Linked DNA regions of Homo sapiens: region 2 is linked to region 1. Evidence: promoter capture Hi-C in 16 types of primary human blood cells and fetal thymus (Javierre and others, 2016). All regions are on one chromosome and are shown on one strand. Each heading gives the region's core, a stretch centred on a gene start or on the middle of the fragment in contact. The rest is flanking DNA. Distances are from core to core; before and after follow the strand shown. Region 1 holds the start of HEATR5B (HEAT repeat containing 5B). Region 2 overlaps BIRC6 (baculoviral IAP repeat containing 6).

The links. The method cuts DNA at HindIII sites, captures the fragments that hold promoters and counts their contacts. A CHiCAGO score of 5 or more calls a contact.
Region 2: a fragment that was not itself captured here is called in contact with the fragment with the promoter of HEATR5B in region 1 in 1 of 17 cell types (M1 macrophages); the score reaches 7.5 in M1 macrophages.

What each region holds. Positions count from the first base shown.
Region 1 is chr2:37,081,669-37,086,142 of GRCh38, reverse strand. HEATR5B (HEAT repeat containing 5B) reads left to right here and starts at 1,771. Exons shown (of 36, transcript NM_019024.3): 1 at 1,771-1,874; 2 at 2,707-2,854. The coding sequence starts at 2,729. GPATCH11 (G-patch domain containing 11) reads right to left here and starts at 1,625. Exons shown (of 9, transcript NM_174931.4): 1 at 1,573-1,625. RefSeq lists enhancers at 1,534-1,693, 2,164-2,263. The HindIII fragment of the contact is 3,413 bases long and covers 1-2,651 here.
Region 2 is chr2:32,495,168-32,499,125 of GRCh38, reverse strand. All of the region lies in intron 45 of BIRC6 (baculoviral IAP repeat containing 6), which reads right to left. Among named protein-coding and RNA genes, the nearest start is that of MIR558, 35 kb to the left of the region's middle. The HindIII fragment of the contact is 6,283 bases long and covers 1-3,958 here.

The sequences.
Region 1 (4,474 bases), core at 522-3,021:
GAACAGGATTAACCTGTGTAACCAACAGGATTTTGTGGAGATGATGGAGTTGATTTTTTGGTCATAACTGCAGCTCTTAGGTCATTCTAACTTTGAAGTTAGATGACTCACTTGAAGGAAGTCAGTGGTCACATAATAAGGATACTCAAGAAGCTCTATGGAGAAGGTCACACGATTGGAACTGAGTCCTCCTATTAAAAGCCAGCACAAACTCATGAGCCACAGGAGTGAGCTACCTTGGAAATGGATTCTCTTGCTCCAGTCAGGCCTTCAAATGACTCAGCCTGGGCTGGCATCTTCACTGCAACTTCTTAAGAAAGTCCATGCTAAACTAAGCTAAGCTGCTAACAAATTCCTGACCCATAGAAACTGTGAGATAACAAATGATTACAGTTATCTTAAGCTGCTACATTTGGGGATAATTTGTTATGTAGCAAAAGTTATCAGGAAGTAGAACCTTATCAGGCACCTGGGAGCCCTCTTTGTCCCCTATCCAGTTGCAACTCTCTTTTGGTTCTAAGAATAGTCACTATTCTGTTTTTTATGGCAATCATTTCCTTCATTTTCTCGATAGTTTTGTCATCCACGTGTGCATCTTTAAACATTACAGTTTAGTTTACCTATTTTTATTATAAGTTAAAAACGTGCACTATTATATACAGCATTTATGGTAATTCACCCGCTTCCTCTAAACCTCAGATTCTTCATTGGTAATAACAGCATTTTTACACATAATGGTTTAACACTTACCCAGTATATCACACATTTTTATCACATTTAACCACCACTAACAACTCTACAAGGTAGGAAGAGTTTTTCCTGTTGGAGAAATTAAGGTTCAGTATGGCTAAATGACTATTTCAAAACCACAAAGAATCCGGGTCATAGTGCCTTGCAAATAGGATTACATTGTTTTTAAGAGACCTACTTAACTTTAAAGTGCCAGGCACATCTGAATGGGGTTACAGGTTGCTTTTAAAGCTCTCTTTCTATTGGTAAAATATACTTTAGCATTATCCATTTCCATCAAAGATAAGCATAAACTTCACAAGGCGATACCCTGGCAGAGATGATGGAGGCTCGTACCAGAGTGATAGCAATGCAAGTGGTCGCATTTGGGGTACACTTGAAGGTAGAGCTTACAGGATTTGCTGATGTTGTAGGTAGTACGTAAAGAACGATGTCAAGATAACGCTAAGTTTTTGGCCTGAATACATGGAAGAACGGAGTTAACGTTTTTTGAGAGTGGGAAGACTGTAGGAGTAGGTTTGTTTTTGTTTTTTTAGGGGGCGTAGTCGGGAAACAGACATATTGAGAGTCCCATTACATATACAAGTGGAGAAATGGACCTACAGTATAAATGTGACAAGAAACGTCCCACTCTCAATACTACGCTCAGGAACCGCTGATCCCTTCCCTCACGCGTTCCTCCTGGCTGCAAGCGTCCCACAGACGCAACCACCCACGGATGGAAAAGTGGCTGACGGTGTGATACGGTAGTCATGGCCAGCGCACTCTGCCTTTTATCATTCTACCGGTTGTCCCCAGACCCTTACCTGACAGCTCTCTTACCTGACAGCTCTCTGCTCGCCCCGGTTCAGCGCCGTAGAGCGCGCGCTGCGCATGCGCCCACCGACCAGCGTCGGACTTCCGGACCTCGGCTCCCACCAGTTTCCTAGTGCAGACTCTATTGGAAATTCGCGGCGGGTGGGGATAGGAGGACGTGGTGACTGCGCTTGCGCAAGACCAGCCCTCCGCGCAAGCGCTCTTCCCTTGTTTCCTGCAGGTAGGAGTGCGGGAGGTGGGGCATCCGGGTCTCTTGGTGGCTGCTTCTACCCCCGGAGCTCAGCTGATCTTCCCTTCCAGACTACGAGGTGAGGTCGCCGAAGCATGCATGTTGACACGCACGGACTCCTGTCCGACGTACATTTTCAGACGGGTGGGGAAGACATTTGAGTTCGTAATGAACATTTTCCCTTTTCTGGCTCCGTGCTTAGTTCCGAGCTGCCGCCTCGTGCTATTGACAGCCTGCGGAACCCCACGGAGGCTTGCGGCGGCCTCTTGGTGTTTCCCCGGGTCCGCCGCTTGCGGTTCTTGGAGTAGCCAGGTGAAGCCAGACCCCGAGCGCGCGAGGCTTCTCGGGTGCATTCCGGACCGCCTGGTGTTGTCACTGACGCTTCGGCCGCCGGGCCTGGCCGCCCCACCCATCCGCGTAGGAAGAGTCTTGGAGACCTGCAGTTCGGGATGTCTGTGCTGGGTGTTTTGACCTCAGTCCCTCTGGCCAGGTGCAGCGCGGGAGGGTAAAGGTGCTATGTACCGAACCCTGGACGAGAAAAAGAGGAGGATGGTTGTCAAGCCCGGCTGGGGTGTTTGATCTTAGTGCTTCAGTTTTTTCATTTATAGAACGGGTAAATGACATATGTGTTGCTGGACATATTTCTTCTGGAATAATGCCTTTTTTGGCAATAATTTCTTTTAATTTTCTTTTCACTCCATGAGTCACTCTTCCTTACCAAGTAGTTTTCTTCTGTTTTTGTTTGTATTTTTGTCATTTAAAAGTATGTTCTCAGGTTTTGCCTCAAAGAAGTTGAGTTTTTCCCCAAATGAAATGAGTAGTCCTACTTTTCTTAGTGAGTATATTCCATTAAGCTTGACTTTTAACATTAAAAAATACTTACAAGTATTTTTTACTCTGTTAAATTTAAGGTGTGAATTTCAAACTTCCGTAATGGAGTTAGCCCACAGTTTATTGCTAAATGAAGAAGCTTTGGCTCAAATCACCGAAGCAAAAAGACCAGTTTTCATCTTTGAATGGTTGCGATTTCTTGATAAAGTCTTGGTTGCTGCCAACAAGGTATGGTATTGCTCTTTTTTCCCAGTTGCATTAACGTGAAGAGATTATGTGGTCATGATTCTTAAGAAAACACATGTTATGTTTTGGAAGGTTTATGGGTCACTTATGGAACTTGAGAGTATTACACGAATGGGAAATTTAGTGGCAAAACTCAAACCTCGTTTAAATCCAGCTCATTGCCTATCTTCTTTATGTTTGTACCTGGGCAGCTCATTGTAACTGGAGAAAAACATGGCTATATGACTGGTGTCACTTTAAATTTATCATCGTCACCCGTTGCAAGTGATCTCTCTATGCTGCCTAACAATCCCAGTGTCTTCACTTATCTCTTTGAGGAGTCAATAATAGGCTCTTTTTTTTTTTTAATCTGTTTTTTCTTCCTGCATAGCCTTGATTTGCCGAGACCAGCTCGTTTGGGGAGACCCTAACCTAGCGGCGCTAGAGGAATTAAAGACACACACAGAAATATAGAGGTGTAAAGTGGGAAATCAGGGGTCTCACAGGCTTCAGAGCTGAGACCCCGGAACAGAGATTTACTCAAGTGTCTATTAACAGCAAGCCAGCCATTAACATTGTTTCTACAGATATTCGATTAGCTAAAAGTATCCCTTATGGGAAACGAAGGGGTATGCTGAAACAAAGGGGTGGGTCTGGCTAGTTCTGTGCAGCAGGAACATGCCCTTAAGGCGCAGATCGCTCATGGTATTGTTTGTGGTTTAAGAGCGCCTTTAAGCGGTTTTCAGGCCAGGTGTTCCTTGCCCTCATTCGGGTTTCGTTATGGCCATCATGAACATGTCACAGTGCTGCAGAGATTTTATTTATGGCCAGTTTTGGAGCCAGTTCCCAACATTGATTCAACTTACTTTTTATTGTCTGTGTATTTTATATTCTGTCTTTAAAAGTAGATATGGCCCGGCATGGTGGTTCACGCCTGTAATCCCAGCACGTTGGGAAGCTGAGGTGGGTGGATCACCTGAGGTCAGGAGTTCCAGACTAGCCTGGCCAACATGGTGAAACCCCGTTTCTACTAAACACTGCTAAAAGTACGAAAATTAGCCAGGCGTGGTCGTGGGCGCCTGTAATCCCAGCTACTGGGGAGGCTGAGGCAGGAGAATCGCTTGAGCCGGAAAGGCAGAGGTTGCAAGGAGCCGAGATCGCACTAATGCACTCCAGCCCGGGGGACAAGAGTGAAACTCCATCTGAAAAAAAAAAAAAAAAAAAAAAAAAAAAAAAAAAGTAGATACTTCCCTCAAATGTCTGATGATCTTTGGCTGCCTGATCAAATTTAAAAGTGAGTAGTAAAAACTTTTCTCAGCAGGGCCAGTCTTTTAAACTGGACTTCACTGTAGGCTAGTTTGGTCCCTGACCTTAGTATTTTAGGTTTCTGTAGGCTAGTCATTCCCCAGAAGATACTTTTCTACTGTCGTGTCTGAAGAGTATATAGCTAGCTGGCTACATTCTTGGAGTTGTGGGAGAAGACTGGGGACTTTAAAGTTCAGTATGTGAACTTTCACTGCATCTCCCCATTTTCAGTGCAGTTTTCCCAGACCGCAACTGTGCCTGGACTCTTCTAGTCTGGACATACAATATTTCACTCTTCCCAGAGAATAAACTTTCAGT
Region 2 (3,958 bases), core at 798-3,297, 4.6 Mb after region 1:
TCTCAAGTATCAAAATTGAATGCTCTTCAAATTCTGTTTATGCCTAAGATATAGAATGCTGAAAAGTCTAACAGCAAGTCAGTCTAACAGCAAGAAAAAGGCAAATTAGGCCAGGTGCAGTGGCTCATGCCTGTAATCCCATCACTTTGGGAGCCCCAGGTGGGCAGATCACTTGTGGCGCCAGGAAGTTCAAGACCGGCCTGGCCAACATGGTGAAACCTCATTGTTACTAAAAATACAAAAATTAGCCAGGCATGATGGCATGTGACTGTTAATTCCAGCTACTCAGGAGACTAAGGCAAAAGAATACTTTTGAGTTTGAGACCAACCTGGCCAACATGGCGAAACCCCATCTCTACTGAAAATACAAAAATTAGCCAGGCATGGTGATGGGCCTGTAATCCCAGCTACTCAGGAGGCTGAAGCATGAGAATTGCATGAACCCAGGAGGAGGAGGTTGCAGTGAGTTGAGATCACACAACTGCACTCTAGCCTGGGTGACAGAGCGAAAGTCTATTTCAAAAAACAAACAAAGACTGTCTAAAGCAAAAAAATAAAAAATAAAAAAAAGGTTGCACAGTATTGTGTTTATAGCATATATAAACAGTAAAAACATGACAACTATGTCACAAAAGACGGAAGAAAGGAACTGAAACTACACTGTTAAGTTCTGACATTATACATGAACGGAATAATATTTTAAAGTGGAATGTGATTAAATAAAGGTATATCTTGTAAAACTAGGACAACTAATATTAAAAATTTTCGGTTATAGGCCGGGCACAGTGGCTCATGCCTGTAATGCCAGTGACACGGGTGGATTGCTTGAGCTCAGGAGTTCGAGACTACCCTGGCCAACCTGGTGAAACTACGCCTACAAAATATACAAAAATTAGCCGTGTGTAGTAGCATAGCAGAAGCCTGTAATCCCAGCTATTCGGCAAGTTAAGGCACGAAAATCACGTGAACCCAGAAGGCGGAGGTTGCAGAGAGCCAAGATCGCACCACTACGCTCCAACCTGTGCGACAGAGCAAACAAACACTGTCTCAAAAATAAATAAGAAATTCAGTTATAAATAAGGATGGAAATGAAATTATTTTAAAAGTTGCTTAATTCAAAAGTCAACAGAAAAAGATTTCTTAAAAGGAATCAAAAATAGATGAAATAAATAGAAAAATAGCAAAATGATCAATTTTAATCCAGCATGTCAATAATTACATTAAATGTATGTAGTCTATATAGTCTATATAGACCAATTCTGACTTTGTCAAATGCTTGTATTAGAAAAGAAAGGTCTAAAATCAATTATCTAAGCCATAAAGATCAAATTAAATTCAAAGAAAGTAGAAAAGAAGAAATAATCTATAAGCTGCCTTTTTTTGAAATAATATTGATGAACTTCTAGCCAGAATGACCCCAAAAAAAGATAAAAATTACCAACATCAGAAATGAAGGAAACTTATAGATCCTATAAACATTAATACATATACATATTTCCACTAACAAATACAACAATGTAAAGGAACAACTTCCTTCACAAAATTACCAAAGCTCAATCAAGAAGAGAAAACCTGAATAGTCCAAGACCTAGAAAATAAGTTGAAAATTTTTGGGGCAAAGAAAACTCTAGCCACAGGATGCTTCAATGGCAAATGCTACCAAATACTTAAGTAAGTGACAATACACATATTACACAACCTCTTTCAGAATAAATTCAGAGAATAAATTCAGCAAGTTATAAAATGGACTGATATGTTATGACCAAGGGTGTCTACCTTGAGAATGCACATTAACTGACACTTAGCAAAAAAAATCAAACTTGGTGTAGTGGCATATGCCGATTGGGCCAGCTAAGAACAGAATGAGACTGAAAGCCTGCTTGAACTCAGGAGTTCAAAGCCAGCCTGGGCAACATAGTGAGATCTCAACTCTTTAGAAAACACCAATATAATTCAACGTATGAACAGATGAAAGAAGAAACAATCTATGTTCATTTCAACAGATGCAGGGAAACATCTAACAAAATCCAGAGACATTCATAATTTTTTTAAGGTCTTAGCAAGTTAGAAACAAACTGGAACTTCCTCAACTTACTATCACATATCTAAAAAAGAGCTCCAGCTAGTAACATATCTAATTATGAAAGACAATGTTTCATAAGATCTTAAGATTGAGAAAAAGAAGGAAGAGTAACTTTTACCATATGTACTCAACAGCATACTTGAAGTCCGAACGAGTACAACTGGATGGGGGGAGGGGAACCCATGAGACATATGCATAAGAAAGGAGGAAATTAAACTAACCGTATTCTCTGACAATATGGCCAAACAAGCAATACATCTGCCCAAACTGATCTACAGAATGATGCAATCTCACTCAAAATGATTTTTTTCTGGAAAATCAATAAGCTGATTGTAAAATTTATAAGGAAAAAGGAATGGAATTAAAACAGCCAAAATAACTCTAAAAATAAAGAACAAAGGTGGAGAGCCTACACTACTAAATTTCAAAAAATACTGTAAGGGAACTAAGACAGTGAGGTAATGCATAAAAAACAGACAAAAACATAAATTCTATATAATACACTGTATGAACAAATGAGGCTGGGTGTGGTGGCTCACGCTTGTAAACCCAGCAATTTGGGAAATGGAGGCAGGTGGATCTCTTGAGGCCAGGAGTTTGAGACCAGCCTGGCCAACATGGCAAAACCCCATCTCTACTGAAAATACAAAAATTAGCCAGGCATGGTGATGGGCCTGTAATCCCAGCTACTCAGGAGGCTGAAGCATGAGAATTGCACGAACCCAGGAGGTGGAGGTTGCAGTGAGTCTGAATCACGCCACAGCACTCCATCCTGGGCGACAGAGCAAAGTTGTCTCAAAAAAAAAAAAGTGTATGAATTAGATCAAAACAAGTATCATTGATTGATATTTGAAAAACTACAAAGGGAATCCAATGAAAAAAGGAAAGTATTTTCAAAAAATGGTCTACGAAGGCGGGGTGCGGTGGCTCATGCCTGTAATCCCAGCACTTTGGCAGGCTGATCACGAGGTCAGGAGATCAAGACCATCCTGGCTAACACGGTGAAACCCCGTCTCTACTAAAACTACAAAAACAAAATTAGCAGGGCGTGATGGCAGGCACCTGTAGTCCCAGCTACTCAGGAGGCTGAGGCGGGAGAATGGCGTGAACCCAGGAGGCGGCGCTTGCAGTGAGCCGAGATCGTACCACTGCACTCCAGCCTGGGTGACAGAGAGAGACTCCGTCTCAAAAAAAGAAACAAAGATATAGGAACAGTTGGACATCCACAGGCAAAAAAAAAAAAAAAAAAAAACTTCATCCTGAAAGCAAAAAATAACAAGCCTAAATATAAAACATAAAATTGTAAAATTTCTAGAAGAAAACATAATATTCTGTGTGACTTTGTGTGAGGAGGGTATTTAAGACTTTGTGTGAGGAGGGTAACAACAACAAAAAATACATAAAAGTTGACAATTTAGATTACATCTAGAATTTTAAAACTTCTGCTTTTTGAAGGCTACTTAATAAAGTGAAAACAGAGTCCAAAGACCAATAGATAGTATTTGCAAAACACTCATCTGATAAAACTGAATGCCTTCTTTATACCGAGTATTTCTTTCAGTGTATATTATTATATCATTAATCTAACTAAAGAGCTGCTGGATCTTTCACAGAATACCAGAGCCTTTATTAAAAACAAACATAAACTAACATTCTTCTTGGGCCACAGCTTTGTGGACCCTCTTAAATAAACTAGGCCACAAAAATGTACAGGGTATATGTGTGGTGAAGTGAGGTGGAGAAAATTCCTAAACAGTTTCTGTGGCGTATAAACCTCAAAATATCTCTGCTTAAATATTAGATGTGACTAAACTACAAACAAGATTAATAATCCTTTAGAAAATGTTAGAGCAAATATATTAAAAGTTTAGTATG